3 separate regions of the Homo sapiens genome follow, and all the other regions are linked to region 1. The links are contacts of gene promoters, found by promoter capture Hi-C in human tissues and cell types (Jung and others, 2019). All regions are on one chromosome and are shown on one strand. The core of a region is centred on a gene start or on the middle of the fragment in contact, and the rest is flanking DNA. Distances in the headings are between cores, read along the strand shown. Region 1 holds the start of SLC4A11 (solute carrier family 4 member 11). Region 2 has its middle 6.1 kb from the start of AVP. Region 3 overlaps DNAAF9 (dynein axonemal assembly factor 9).

Region 1 (4,126 bases), core at 665-3,164:
GAAACGGTCAGTCTGGAGGCAGCAGGCGTGTGGGCCTCAGGGGTTCCCTCCAGGAAGGCCGAGGGAACAGAACCGCAGGGGCAGAGCACAGGTGTAGCAGAGAAGGGCTCAGTGCCAGTTCCTTTGAGAGACGGTCAGGGAGCGGACAGAGGGGGCCCATAGCCGACTAGGGGCGGCTTGGTCATGGGCTCCTCTTTCCTCAGTGGGCTGAGGGGTTAGGTCCTTTGAGGAGCGCTGAGGAGACTGTGGTAAGGGGAAGCGCCCTCCATCCCAGAGGCTTTCCTGGAACAAGTGGGTTGGAAGGACCAGGTGTTTGGGAGCTGCTGGGAGCAGGTGCAGAAGCCAAGGCATTCCCAGATGGGGGAGACTGGGGGTGGCAAGGTGGCTTTTCAGGGATCCAGCCTGCATGCCACCTATGCAGCCATGCTCCGGGGGCGACATCCGCCTGTGTCCTTCAGCTCTTCCTCAGCCTCCACCCGCCACCCGGGAGTCAGTGCCTGGACTGGAGCTCTAGCTGGAGGGCGTCTAGGAAAGGTCCCAAGGGGTGCGCAGGATGACCTGGTGTCTCTCCAGAGTCACCCCTGCTAAAATACTATGTGGCCAGCCCCAAGTCAGTTGCAGGTCATGGTGTTGGGATCTTCCACAAGGCCTCCTGGAGTCGCGCTGGGGGAGGGTGGGGTACTCAGTCTGTCGCAGAGCCCCAGGCCATCCGTCGCCAAGAGGAGCACTCCAGCGCTTCCCTCCTAATGCGTTCTTATCTTGCCGGGAGGAGAACTGGGCCAGCCTTACTCACCCAATCTATGCATGAGGCTTCCCCAACGCGCCAGAAGCCCTTCCTTCGCAGAGGTGGGCTTGCCCCGGCCTGTCCCCGTTCCTCTACCATGGTTAGGGCACAGTGGCCGAGGACTCCGTCCCAGCGCGGCTGAGCCGGAAAGCGATGGCGGCCGGAGGGGTCGGGAGGTTGGTTAGCGCTTTACGGAGCTGCGTGTTCCGTTTCCAAGGGCTGTAGAGCCTTCTACTGGGAGCCACCGTGGATCAGGCCAGGGGTTCGTCAGCTGCATTTGCCGGATCGCATCGCAGCACGCGCACCCACACGCGCACACGCCCTACTCGCAGGAGACTAAGCGCCCCGAAAAGGCGCGTCCCCGGGCGGGTCGCAGCCGGTCCAGGAAAGGGGACAGGGCGCAAGGGCCATTTGGGGAAGGAAAAAGGGGGCGAACCATGACCTTGACCTCATAGAAGGCCGAGGACGTGAAGAGGCTGGCAGATAAGTTGGCGAGGCTCGCAGCGAAAACCCAAAGCAGCCGAGCTCGGAGAGCGCCGTCTCAGCGGGCGAGGGCGTAGCCCGGGGAATGCACGGAGGTCCGTCTAGTCAGTCGGGGCGCGCTTCCTGGAGGAGGAGGAGAAGGACTTGCGGCCGGAGCTACCGGGATAAATGCAGGAGGCGGGGCAGCCAGCGGGCGTGGCCCTGCGGAGGTCCCCGGTCGAAAGGAGGAGACAGGGGCCGGCCGCGTACTTAAAGCGGACGCGGGGGAAGCCCTCCCGGGGTCTGCCTCAGTCGCACAGCTCGGTGGGCTCGTGGCGCAGTCGAACGTTTTCCCAGAAGCTCCCCGGCCCCGTCCAGCCCCTAAACTCGCGACGCTGGGTCTGCTGGGTCCGGCGCGCACAGGCTCGAAGGAGCCGGGTCTACTCGGTTTGGCCCAGCAGCTGCGGGCGGCGGGGAGCAGCCCAGCCCGGCTGGAGCAGCCTCCCGCGGGTGAGGGCGCGGGGCGGGCGGCCGGGTCCCAGCCCTCGGCAGCTCTGCCTACCGCGCCCGGGCGCGGCGTCTGAGCGGCATTAGGACCCAGGCGCGGCGTGGGGGTGTGTCGCCGGCTCCCGCCGCCGGCCCGCCCGAGTCGCCGAGTTTGGGGTCCAGAAGCGCCGGAGCGCCGCGTGAGGAGCCCGGCCGTGAGTGCGCGAGTGTGCCATGGCCGCGGCCACCAGGCGCGTGTTCCATCTGCAGCCGTGCGGTGGGTGCCTGAACCCGGGGGCGCGGCGGGAAGGCCGCCCGGGTCTCCGCCACCGTCTCCCGTCGGGGACCCCGGGGAGAACGCGGATGCCGTCTGCCTGCGCGGGCCGGGGCCGGTGGGCGAGAGGGCTGCGGGATTCCCAGCCGCGGGGAGGAGGGCGCGGGTGCGGGAGGCCCGGGCGCGGCTTCGCGGCCACCGCGCGCTTGGTTTCATTAGGGCTCTGCTGTCGCCGTCTTGAATTTCTTACCAGGTTTGAACAGCTGATGCAGCGGGTCGAGGGCGGGGAGCTCGAAAGTGGGCAGGGCGGAGCTGTGGGGCTCCCAGCGCCCCGAGCGCCGAGCTTTTGGGAGCCTGGCGGGCCGCCGCCTCGGAAGGTCTCATTTTACCTTCCGCCCGGGCATCTTCCCGTCCGGCGCCGCGGTGGGAGCCCCGGAACCCCTGGAGTTTTGGGAGTCCCGGGACCCCTGACCGTGCCCTGCGCGGCCGCAGCGGTTTCTCCCTTGCTCTGACACGGGAGGGCCAGCCCTGGGTCCCCGCCAGGACCCAGGTTTGTACGACCCTTTACCTGCACGTGGGCCGCCGGGACGGAAGCGGAGTGTGCACCGGCCCAACCCTCCCAGACCCTCGTCGCCCACGGCCTGGGACGCGCCCCAGCGCCCCCGCCCCCCACTTCAGGATGCAGCCCCGGCTCCCGCCCCGCGCCTGCATTCACATCCTGCGCCCCGACCCCCGGGGTCTCCGAGTCTGGAGGCGCTTTCCTCTCGTGCACGCGGCCCCTCCTGTCGCTTCCTTCCTCCGACAGCGAGGCACAAACAGCCGGGACCATCCGGGGACCGGCCCAGGGAGGGCGCAGCCTCCCCCGACCCATGTGTCCCTCAGATACTCCTCCCACCCCCAATTGTTCTCCCTTTTGGACCAACGGCTCTGGCTTCCAGGCGGCCGGGACGCGGTCCCAGGACTGGAGACCGTTGCCTGTCGGCCCCCGTGTGACCCGGGGCGCGTGACGGGGGTCGGGGGAACTGCGCCTGCAATGGGCGTTTATGGCCCCCAGGACCGGTCTGAGAGTGAGAAGAGGGATGTGCAGAGAGATCCCCCGCCTTGGCATCCGAGGAGAGAGGGGGAGAGGCCCGCTCGGGCCCGGTCCCTTCCTCTCGCTGCAGCGGGGCAGGGTTTTCTCAGGAAAACCTGGATTAGCGAACATGGTACTGGTACTAACTCGGTGGGAAGACATCCCTGGAACGTCTCTCCTCCTCGCCTCTGGCCCGCCTGGGCAGCCCCTAGCAGATGGGCTAAGCAATTGAATTTCTGAGATTAAGGCTGGCTTCCCCTGCTATGGGGCCCCCTCCCGAGCACTGTCCCCTGCTTCCCTTTCTCCCTAGGGTGGCGTGGGTTGCATCCCTCGGAAGAGCGAAGGAATGAGCCAGGTCGGGGGGCGGGGAGACAGGTGCACACAGGAGGTCCAGGGCTTGGTCCATGGGGCTGGTGACCTTTCTGCTTCCCTTGCAGAAAACTCTCCCACCATGTCGCAGAATGGATACTTCGAGGATTCAAGTGAGTACCTCTCGGGGAGTGTGTGTGTGCAGAGAGAGCTTGTCGGGCAAAAGCCTCCAGGGTGCATAGCCTACCCACCAGAGTCCTGTGGCTTTGCTCGCCTATCTGGGCCACTCTAGTGCTGGAATGCTTTTGGCTTCCACTCTTCGGGAAGCTAGACATGGGCGGATCCCCCGTGGACCTGAGAGGGCAGGCTGCCCATTCTCCTGGGCTACTTGGACCAGGTGAACCCTCTGGGATTCTTACCCAAGGTTTTCTGTGACAATGGCCTGTTATCTGACTAGCCTTGGGCCAAGAATTCTGTGTGCCCCTGTCCCTCTGTCCTCACCCAGCCCTGGAGGGAATATCTGTCGTTGTCTCTTTAAAGAAATATAAGGCCTCTGTGCTGCAGTCCCTCGGGCACCTTCCTGCTGTCCCTGCTTGTACCAGTCCAGCTGTCTTCCTCCTCATGTCTCTGGGCTGGCTTCAGGCTGTGTCCTGTGCCTAGCCCCATGAGTGACCTGACCATTCGAGGGTTGTTTGTAGAGCAGTGCGTAGACACAGGGCTGATGTTCCCTTACCCAGAG
Region 2 (4,126 bases), core at 476-2,975, 150 kb after region 1:
CGCTGCGCCTCCCAATCTGTGCTCGACCCCGGCCCCCGAGCTTCCGCGCCCTCGGGTCCCCGAGGCCCGCGCTGTTTCCTGTCTCTCCTGGTGACTTCACTCTTCATCTCAGCACCCGCGGGTGTCTGGCTGCGTGGGGGCTGGGAGCGCGGACAGGCCTAGCTCTTCCTTAAGTCTAGCAAAGGGAACGTCTGTGGGACCCCAGGGCCGCAGTCATTGTCCCCGGCGGGTGCGACAGGCCACGTCACTTGGAACACGGAGCTAGGGTTGAGCGTCTCTAGATGCGAGTCTACAGGTCTTGCTGCCGTACAGGTTTTCCATATAGAAACGAGTTTGTCAAAAATATTTTTCTTCGTTTATTTTGCCTTTTACTTAGGTTATTTTTGCAAGTTAAAGAATTTTTATTGTCTTTTCATTTCTGATTTCTTTTAAAAGTTTAATGTAACCCCCCTCTAGAGATACGATAAATATTCAGACCTGGCTTCCCGCATCCCCTCCCCGCCGCTCCCCGGCCCTCGTCAGCTGATTTTTTTTTGAGACGGAGTCTCACTCTGTCGCCCAGGCTGGAGTGCAGTGGCGCGATCTTGGCTTACTGCAACCTCCGCCTCCTGGGTTCAAGTGATTCTCCTGCCTCAGCCTCCCAAGCAGCTAAGACTGCAGGCGCGCACCACCATGCCCAGCTCATTTTTTTTTGTATTTTTGGTAGAGACGGGGTTTCACCATGTTGGCCAGGATGGTCTTGAACTCCTGACCTCGTGATCTGCCCGCCTCGGCCTCCCAAAGTGTTGGGATTACAGGCATGAGCCACCGCGCCCAGCTTGTCGGCTGATTTTATTCTATTTAGCTCTTCAATCCAGCTGAGATGTGCCTTGGTCTGGAAAGAGCAGAAGGCCTCCCCCGCCCTTTTTTACTTGGTCCTGCAGTGGATCCATTTCAGTTCCATACCTGTCCCCTCAGGCTCAGCATTTTTCTCAGAGGTTTCTCATCCCTGCTCAATGTATCCTCTTTGATTCAATTCAGTAAGCAGGTCTTGGGCTCCCACAACATCTTTTGTTTGCTCTTGTTCCCCTCTTCATAGTTTACAGAGCATTTGTGTGGGTCCTCAAAAATACTACTGGAGGCTGGCGCCGTGGCTCACACCGGTAATCCCAGCACTTTGGGAGGCAGAGGTAGGCGGATCACTTGAGGTCAGGAGTTCGAGACCAGCCTGGCCAACATGGTGAAAGCCCATTTCTACAAAAAATACAAAAATTAGCCAGGCATGGTGGTGAGCATCTGTAATCCCAGCTACTAGGGAGGCTGAGGCACGAGAATTGCTTGAACCCGGGAGGCGGAGGTTGCAGTGAGCCAACAGGTGAAAAGAGAGAAAGCTGGACTTACTGCTACCAGCAGTGTTCTTTTGAAAATGAAGCCAGCTAGGCACGGTGGCTCATGCCTGTAATCCCGGCACTTTGGGAGGTCAAGGTGGGCACATCATTTGGGCTCGGGAGTTTGAGACCAGCCTGGGGAAAATGGTGAAATCCTGTCTGCACAAAAACAAAGATTAGCTGGGCATGGTGCTGTGGTTCCAGCCACTCGGGAGGCTGAGGTGGGAGGATCACTCTTAAGCCCAGGAGGTAGAGTTTGCAGTGAGCCATGATCGCACCACTGCACTCCAGCCTGGGCGACAGAGCGAGACACTGTCTCAAAAAAAAAAAAAAAAAAAAAGAAAAAGAAAAAAAGAAAAGAAAAGAAAAAGAACATGAAGCCAATGGCCAGGCACAGTGGCTCACGCCTGTAATTGCAGCACTTTGGGAAGCCAAGGTGGGAGGATTACTTGGGACCAGGGGTTTGAGACTAGCTTGGGCAACACAGTGAGACCCTCATCTCTACAAAAAAAAAAAAAAAAAAAAAAAAAATTAAAAAGGAAAAAAGATAGAAAGAAAATGAGGCCATGCCCTCTCTGGCAGTAGTGGAGATGTTCTATGGTATATACAGCAGGGGAATAAGAAACAGAAGGTGTGGGCAGGGCAGATGCTCTGCTAAGATTAGTTAACTGTTACTTCTTCTCAGAAAAGGTGGTCTAAGGGTAAGGAAGTACTTTATAGAACATTCTGACATTTGGGGTTTCATCTGGAGGCTTGCCACGTTTTATTATGTAAGGATTGCAGAAATCTTAACCCTTTATGGCACCCTCATCTGATTCCCTTAAGACCTCAGTGGGACAGGAAGTGGGGTTAGTACTTCAAGTAAATAACCTTGGGAACAGGTGTGACTTGCCCTGGGTCACACAGAACTCCCTGGAGAGCTGAAGCTGGTACCCAGAGCTTCCCTTCCTTCTTTCCATAATTTATTGAACACCCTCTACCTGGAGTGGGGTTACCGTACTGAGCATGAAAGGTAGAGTCCTTCCTTTCTGCCCTGGTGTTTCATTTTAAAGGGGTTATAGGCATACACACACAAAAAGATAGACACACAAAAAATGAATTGTGAATTGCAGTAGGTGCTATGAAATTCATCAACATAGTCCCAGACAGAAGATAACAGAGATGGGGGATGCTCTAGATAGGGCAGTCAGGGGAGCCTCCTCTTAAGAGATGCCATTTAAACCAATCAAATGAATCCTGGGGAGGGTGCGGGTAGAGGAATCTTCCAGGACACGGAAACAGCAGGATCTCAGATCCCAAAGCAGCAGTTGGAGTTGAGACTGATTTTAGAGGTAACATAAGCAACAGTGAGGGAAAGAGAAGACCCAGGGTGAGTCTCAGGTTCTGGGAGGAGCAGCTGGTTGGATGGTGGTAAGATCACACAGGTGGGAACCCTGGAAGAGCAGGGAAACAGCTGAGAATCTGGAGTTGCGTGTTGACTTTGTTAAGTTGGAGAAGCCTATTGGATATCCAATGTGAGGTGTCACTGGGCAGTTGAAACTATAAGTCTGGCTCTTTGGGGAGAGGCCCAGGATGGAAATACCAGTTTGGGAATTATTAGCTTGTAGTAAGTATATAAAATTGTGGGATCACCCAGGAAGAGAAGGGACACAGGACTGATTCCTGGGATGCTCCAACGTTTAGAAGTCAAGGTCAAAGAGAAGGAGCCAGAAACGGAGACAGAGAGAACACCCGGTGTAACAGAAGGAAAACCAAGAGAGTGTAGCATCGGTGGAACCAAACAAAGTGTGTTTCAGAAAAGGATAAGTGTGGCCGGGCGCGGTGGCTCACGCCTATAATCCCAGCCCTTTGGGAGTCCGAGGCAGGCAGATCATGAGGTCAGGAGATCGAGACCATCCTGGCTAACACGGTGAAACCCCGTCTCTACTAAAAATACAAAAAATTAGCCGGGCGCGGTGGCGGGCACCTGTAGTCCCAGCTACTCGGGAGGCTGAGGCAGGAGAATGGCATGAACCCAGGAGGCGGAGCTTGCAGTGAGCGGAGATCACACCACTGCACTCCAGCCTGGGCGACAGAGCAAGACTCCGTCTCAGAAAAAAAAAAAAAAAGAAAAGGATAAGTGTTCACCCATGTCAAATGCTGCTAGATCATGTGAAATAAGGACATAGACATCACCACCACATTTTTCGTTTTTTTTTTTTTTTTTTTTTTTTTGAGACGGAGTCTTGCTCTGTTGCCCAGGCTGGAGTGCAGTGGCACGATCTTGGCTCACTGCAACCTCCGCCTCCTGGGTTCAGGCGATTTTCCTGCCTCAGCCTCCCGAGTAGCTGGGATTACAGGCAGGTGCCACCACGCCCGGCTAATTTTTCTATTTTTAGTAGAGACGAGGTTTTACTATGCTGGCCAGGCTGGTCTCGAACACCTGACCTCGTGATCCACCGGCCTCGGCCTCCCAAAGTGCTGGGATTACAGGTGTAAGCCATTGCGCCCAGCCGACCACATTTTTCAATATGGAAGTAGTTTAACACCTTGACAACAGGAGTTTCAATGGGCTGGTTTGAGCAGAAGCCCAGGTGGAGGGAGTTGAAGAATAAATGTTGACTTCTGGATAAATGGCAGGTGGAGTGAGACCCCATCTCTAAAAACAAAAACAAAAACAAAAACAAAAACAAAGGGCAGATGGACCACAAATGAAAAACCAAGATGACCACTAACTCCAAGGAATACAAAAAGTTGTTCACAGATAGAAAGATCATCAT
Region 3 (4,126 bases), core at 932-3,431, 130 kb before region 1:
CAGGCCCAGCCACAGCTTTTACTTGCCATTTATGCTGGGCCAAACTGAGTCATCGATATAGATAATTTTTTCTTCCTGGGAAGCAGTACAGGGAAGTTCCTCTGCTAGGGCGTTTTCTGCCTCTAACTTCCTCCTTCTTACTCTCCCACTGCTGGAACTGTGATCTGGTAATGTAAATTTACATCAATCAGCTCCACAAGGGGAGGATCCTAATAGCAAACCTCTAAATAATGAGTAACCAGTGAGCATTCATTCATCTGTTTATGGACAAATAGATCTTCATATTGAAAGATAGAATAAGAATTAGGAAAAGGGTCAACAAAATGTAAGAAAGAGACCACAACATATTAGATGCAGGGATAGATCAGCATGCTTTAAAAAAAGATTTTCTGCCGGGCGCGGTGGCTCACACCTGTAATCCCAGCACTTTGGGAGGCCGAGGCGGGCGGATCACGAGGTCAGCAGATCGAGACCATCCTGGGTAACACGGTGAAACCCCGTCTCTACTAAAAATACAAAAAATTAGCCGGGCGTGGTGGCAGGCGCCTGTAGTCCCAGCTACTCGGGAGGCTGAGGCAGGAGAATGGCGGGAACCCGGGAGGCGGAGCTTGCAGTGAGCCGAGATAGCGCCACTGCACTCCAGCCTGGGCCACAGAGCGAGACTCCAGTCTCAAAAAAAAAAAAAAAAAAAAAAAAAAAGATTTTCTTCAAGGAACAAAAATAATTGAGAAAATTTCTCTTTTTGGTACTTTTTAGGAACAGAATTTATAAAAAGAGAAATGAGATCTAGCAATGAGGTGAGCAATCAAAATTAAAAAGGGAGATGGAAGACATATAAGAAAAGATTGTAGGAAGTCTCAAAATTTATTAGTAGAATGAAAACTTACATTAAAAAAAGATATAAAAAATCTAATCAGTTGACACACTTGAAAAGCTTTTCCAGAATACAGAGGAAGGGGCCAAGTAGATTAAAGCAATGGGAAGGAAGATGATGAAGTGGAGAATAGAGAATGGAAATTGGTGATATTGAAAGGAAAGAATTAAATTAAAGGTTGTTATGTAATAGTCTGTACCTCCCTCTACCGCTCTCCTCTCCCCTCAAGTGACAGTCAACCAGGCATTTGCAGATGCCACCTCCACCCTAGGAAAAACAAAGAAGAGATTTGGGTGGAGGTTTTGTAAAAAAACTGAAAAGGGCCTGGTGAGTGGCTCACACTTGTAATCAAGCCTAGCACTTTGGGAGGCCAAGGCGGGAGGATCGCGTGAAGCCAGGAGTTCAAGACCAGCCTGGCAACAAAAAAATTTTAAAAAAATTAGTCGGGCACGGCTGGGCGCGGTGGCTCAAGCCTGTAATCTGAGCACTTTAGGAGGCTGAGGCGGGTGGATCATGAGGTCAAGAGATCGGGACCGTCCTGGCCAACATGGTGAAACCCCGTCTCTACTAAAAATACAAAAATTAGCTGGGCATGGTGGCAGGCACCTGTCATCCCAGCTACTCAGGAGGCTGAGGCAGGAGAATCACTTGAACCTGGGAGGTGGAGGCTGCAGTGAGCCAAGATCATGCCACTGCACTCCAGCTGGACGACAGTGTGAGACTCCATCTCAAAAAAAAAAAAATTAGCGAGGCACAGTGGCATGTACCTACAGTCCCACCTACTTGGGAGGCTGAGGCCGGAGGATAGCTTGAGCCCTGGAGCTCCAGGCTGCAGTGGGCTGATTGAACCACTGCACTCCAGCCTGAGCAACAGAGTGAGACACTGTCTCAAAATAAATAAATAAAAATGAAATAAATAAACTGAAAGGCAAGACAAAACCAAGAGATTTCATTGGCTAGTGTAGTTTTTGCTTCCTGAGAGTAAACCTGTTCACATTTTGGCATGTAGAATATAAGGGGATGGAGACCCAGTAATAGAAGCTCTGCATAACAGTTATCAGGAATATACACCTTCCAGTTAGCCTTTTCATTGCCTCATTTCAAAGTATGAATAGGAAGCCAAAGATCACCAGACATTTGATTAAACAGCAGTAACTCAAAAGAAAAAGATCAATTTTTTTTTTTAAAAGAAGACCAGTTCATTAAGACCCAAAGATAATTTAAGGTATAGAAGAAAACTTGACATAAAACTCTTTTTGGATGCCCAGAAAAATGTAAGATTTGTCAACCATAGGACAAGTGAATGTTGTAATAACTGAATGTATGGAAAATACGAGCTCTAGGAAATCATAATTGATAAAATCAATAGAGGGGTGGAAGGTAAAGTTAGGAAACTCCTTAGAAAGGTAAAATAAAAACATCACGGAGATAGAAAATATTGATAAAAAAGTTAAAAGACTTTAACCTTTAAAGTTAACTTTAGGCCGGGCTTGGTGGCTCACACCTGTAATCCCAGCACTTTGGGAGGCTGAGGCAGGCAGATCACTTGAGGTCAGGAGTTCAAGACCAGCTCGGTCAACACAGCGAGACCCCCGTCTCTACTAAAAATAGAAAAGTAGCCGGGTGTGGTGGCACACGCCTGTAGTCCCAGCTACCTGGGAGGCTGAGGCAGGAGAATTGCTTAAACCCAGGAAGTGGGGGTTGCAGTGAGCTGAGATCGCACCACTACACTCCAGCCTGGGCGAAAGAGCGAGACTCCATCTGAAAAAAAAAAAAAAGTTAACTTTAAATGTTAGAAGACTGATCTAAGAAGTCTAATATCCAATGAGTAGAATTTCTGGAAAGAGGAGGCCACGATACCATAAGGGAAGAAATCTTTTTAAAACATAAACATTCCCAATCATAAAGAGAAATAAAAGGTTTTAAATTAAATCACTTAAGTATGAATGGGAAGAGGAAAAAAAACCCTTAAATCTGTCCGTGACATTTCAGACACTAAGGATAAAAGAATATCCTTTTTTTTTTTTTTGAGACAGAGTTTTACTCTCCTTGCCCAGGCTGGAGTGCAATGGCACGATCTTGGCTCACTGCGACCTCTGCCTCCCAGGTGCAAACGATTCTCCTGCCACAACCTCCCGAGAAGCTGGGATTACAGGCATGCTCCACCATGCCTGGCTAATTTTGTATTTTTAGAGAAATGGGGTTCACCTTGTTGGCCAGGGTGGTCCCAAACTCCTGACCTCAGGTGATCTGCCTTCTCGGCTTCTGAAAGCTGGGATTACAGGCGTGAGCCACCTGCACCCAGCCTGGATGAAAGAATATCTTTAAAAGCTTCCAGGATGGCCGGGCGCAGTGGCTCATGCCTGTAATCCCAGCACTTTGGGAGGCCGAGGCGGAGGGATCACGAGGTCAGGAGATCGAGACCATCCTGGCTAACACGGTGAAACCCTGTCTCTACTTAAAAAAAAAAATACAAAAATTAGCCGGGCTTGGTGGCGGGCACCTGTAGTCCCAGCTACTCGGGAGGCTGAGGCAGGAGAATGGCGTGAACCTGGGTGGCGGAGCTTTCAGTGAGCTGAGATCATGCCACTGCACTCCAGCCTGGGCGAAAGAGCAAGACTCTGTCTCAAAAAAAAAAAAAAAGCTTCCAGGAAGTTGGTCAGTAAGTTTGGCCAAAAAAGAAAAAAAAAGGCTTCCAGGAAGAAAAAACAAGTCACCCACCACAAAACAACAAAAACTGGTTCCCAAACCAACAAAAGCCCCCCAAAACAAAAACACAAACTAGGCATCAGGCAGTGAGGAATCCTGATTCCCTGAGAGACGGAAACAATCAATGTGAGCCCCTTGATGGTACTAGCTTATCACTTTGAGAAAGTTTCCAGACACAGCATAGAGAAGAGAGGATCCAGGTGGTGCCCAGCGCACTCCCTGAGTTAGGAGATGCAGCTGGGAGTCTGCGGGGACCAAAGCAGTTAGAGTACTAAAGAGGAAAGAACCGTCCAAAGATTCCCCTTGCCCCAGTCGGTACTCAGCAGAATACTGATCAGTGCAGTCATGTGTGTGGTAACTACTCAAGGTCAAGAGAAACCTATCTGAAAGGATTCGAGGATAGTGCCTGATGTGTGTTCTGGGCTGAGAACAGTGCCTGTTTTCACCAGTTAGACTGGCAAAACACATACAGGCCTATCTTAATTTATTGTGCTTTGGTTTGCTGCACTTTGTAGATATTGCTTTTTTTTTTTTTTAAACAAA

Evidence for each region. The method cuts DNA at HindIII sites, captures the fragments that hold promoters and counts their contacts. A contact is called where the count stands out against the background at its distance.
Region 2: a contact is called between a fragment that was not itself captured here and the fragment with the promoter of SLC4A11 in region 1, in 2 of the 25 tissues and cell types used here (dorsolateral prefrontal cortex and spleen).
Region 3: a contact is called between a fragment that was not itself captured here and the fragment with the promoter of SLC4A11 in region 1, in 2 of the 25 tissues and cell types used here (dorsolateral prefrontal cortex and liver).

What each region holds. Positions count from the first base shown.
Region 1 is chr20:3,236,978-3,241,103 of GRCh38, reverse strand. SLC4A11 (solute carrier family 4 member 11) reads left to right here and starts at 1,914. Exons shown (of 20, transcript NM_001174089.2): 1 at 1,914-2,009; 2 at 3,516-3,560. The coding sequence starts at 1,967. RefSeq lists silencers at 1,665-1,824, 1,925-2,104. The HindIII fragment of the contact is 33,876 bases long and covers 1-4,126 here.
Region 2 is chr20:3,088,739-3,092,864 of GRCh38, reverse strand. No RefSeq gene overlaps it. Among named protein-coding and RNA genes, the nearest start is that of AVP, 6.1 kb to the right of the region's middle. RefSeq lists an enhancer at 1-283. The HindIII fragment of the contact is 7,931 bases long and covers 1-4,126 here.
Region 3 is chr20:3,367,907-3,372,032 of GRCh38, reverse strand. The region is part of intron 6 of DNAAF9 (dynein axonemal assembly factor 9); the gene reads left to right. Among named protein-coding and RNA genes, the nearest start is that of DNAAF9, 38 kb to the left of the region's middle. The HindIII fragment of the contact is 4,428 bases long and covers 1-4,126 here.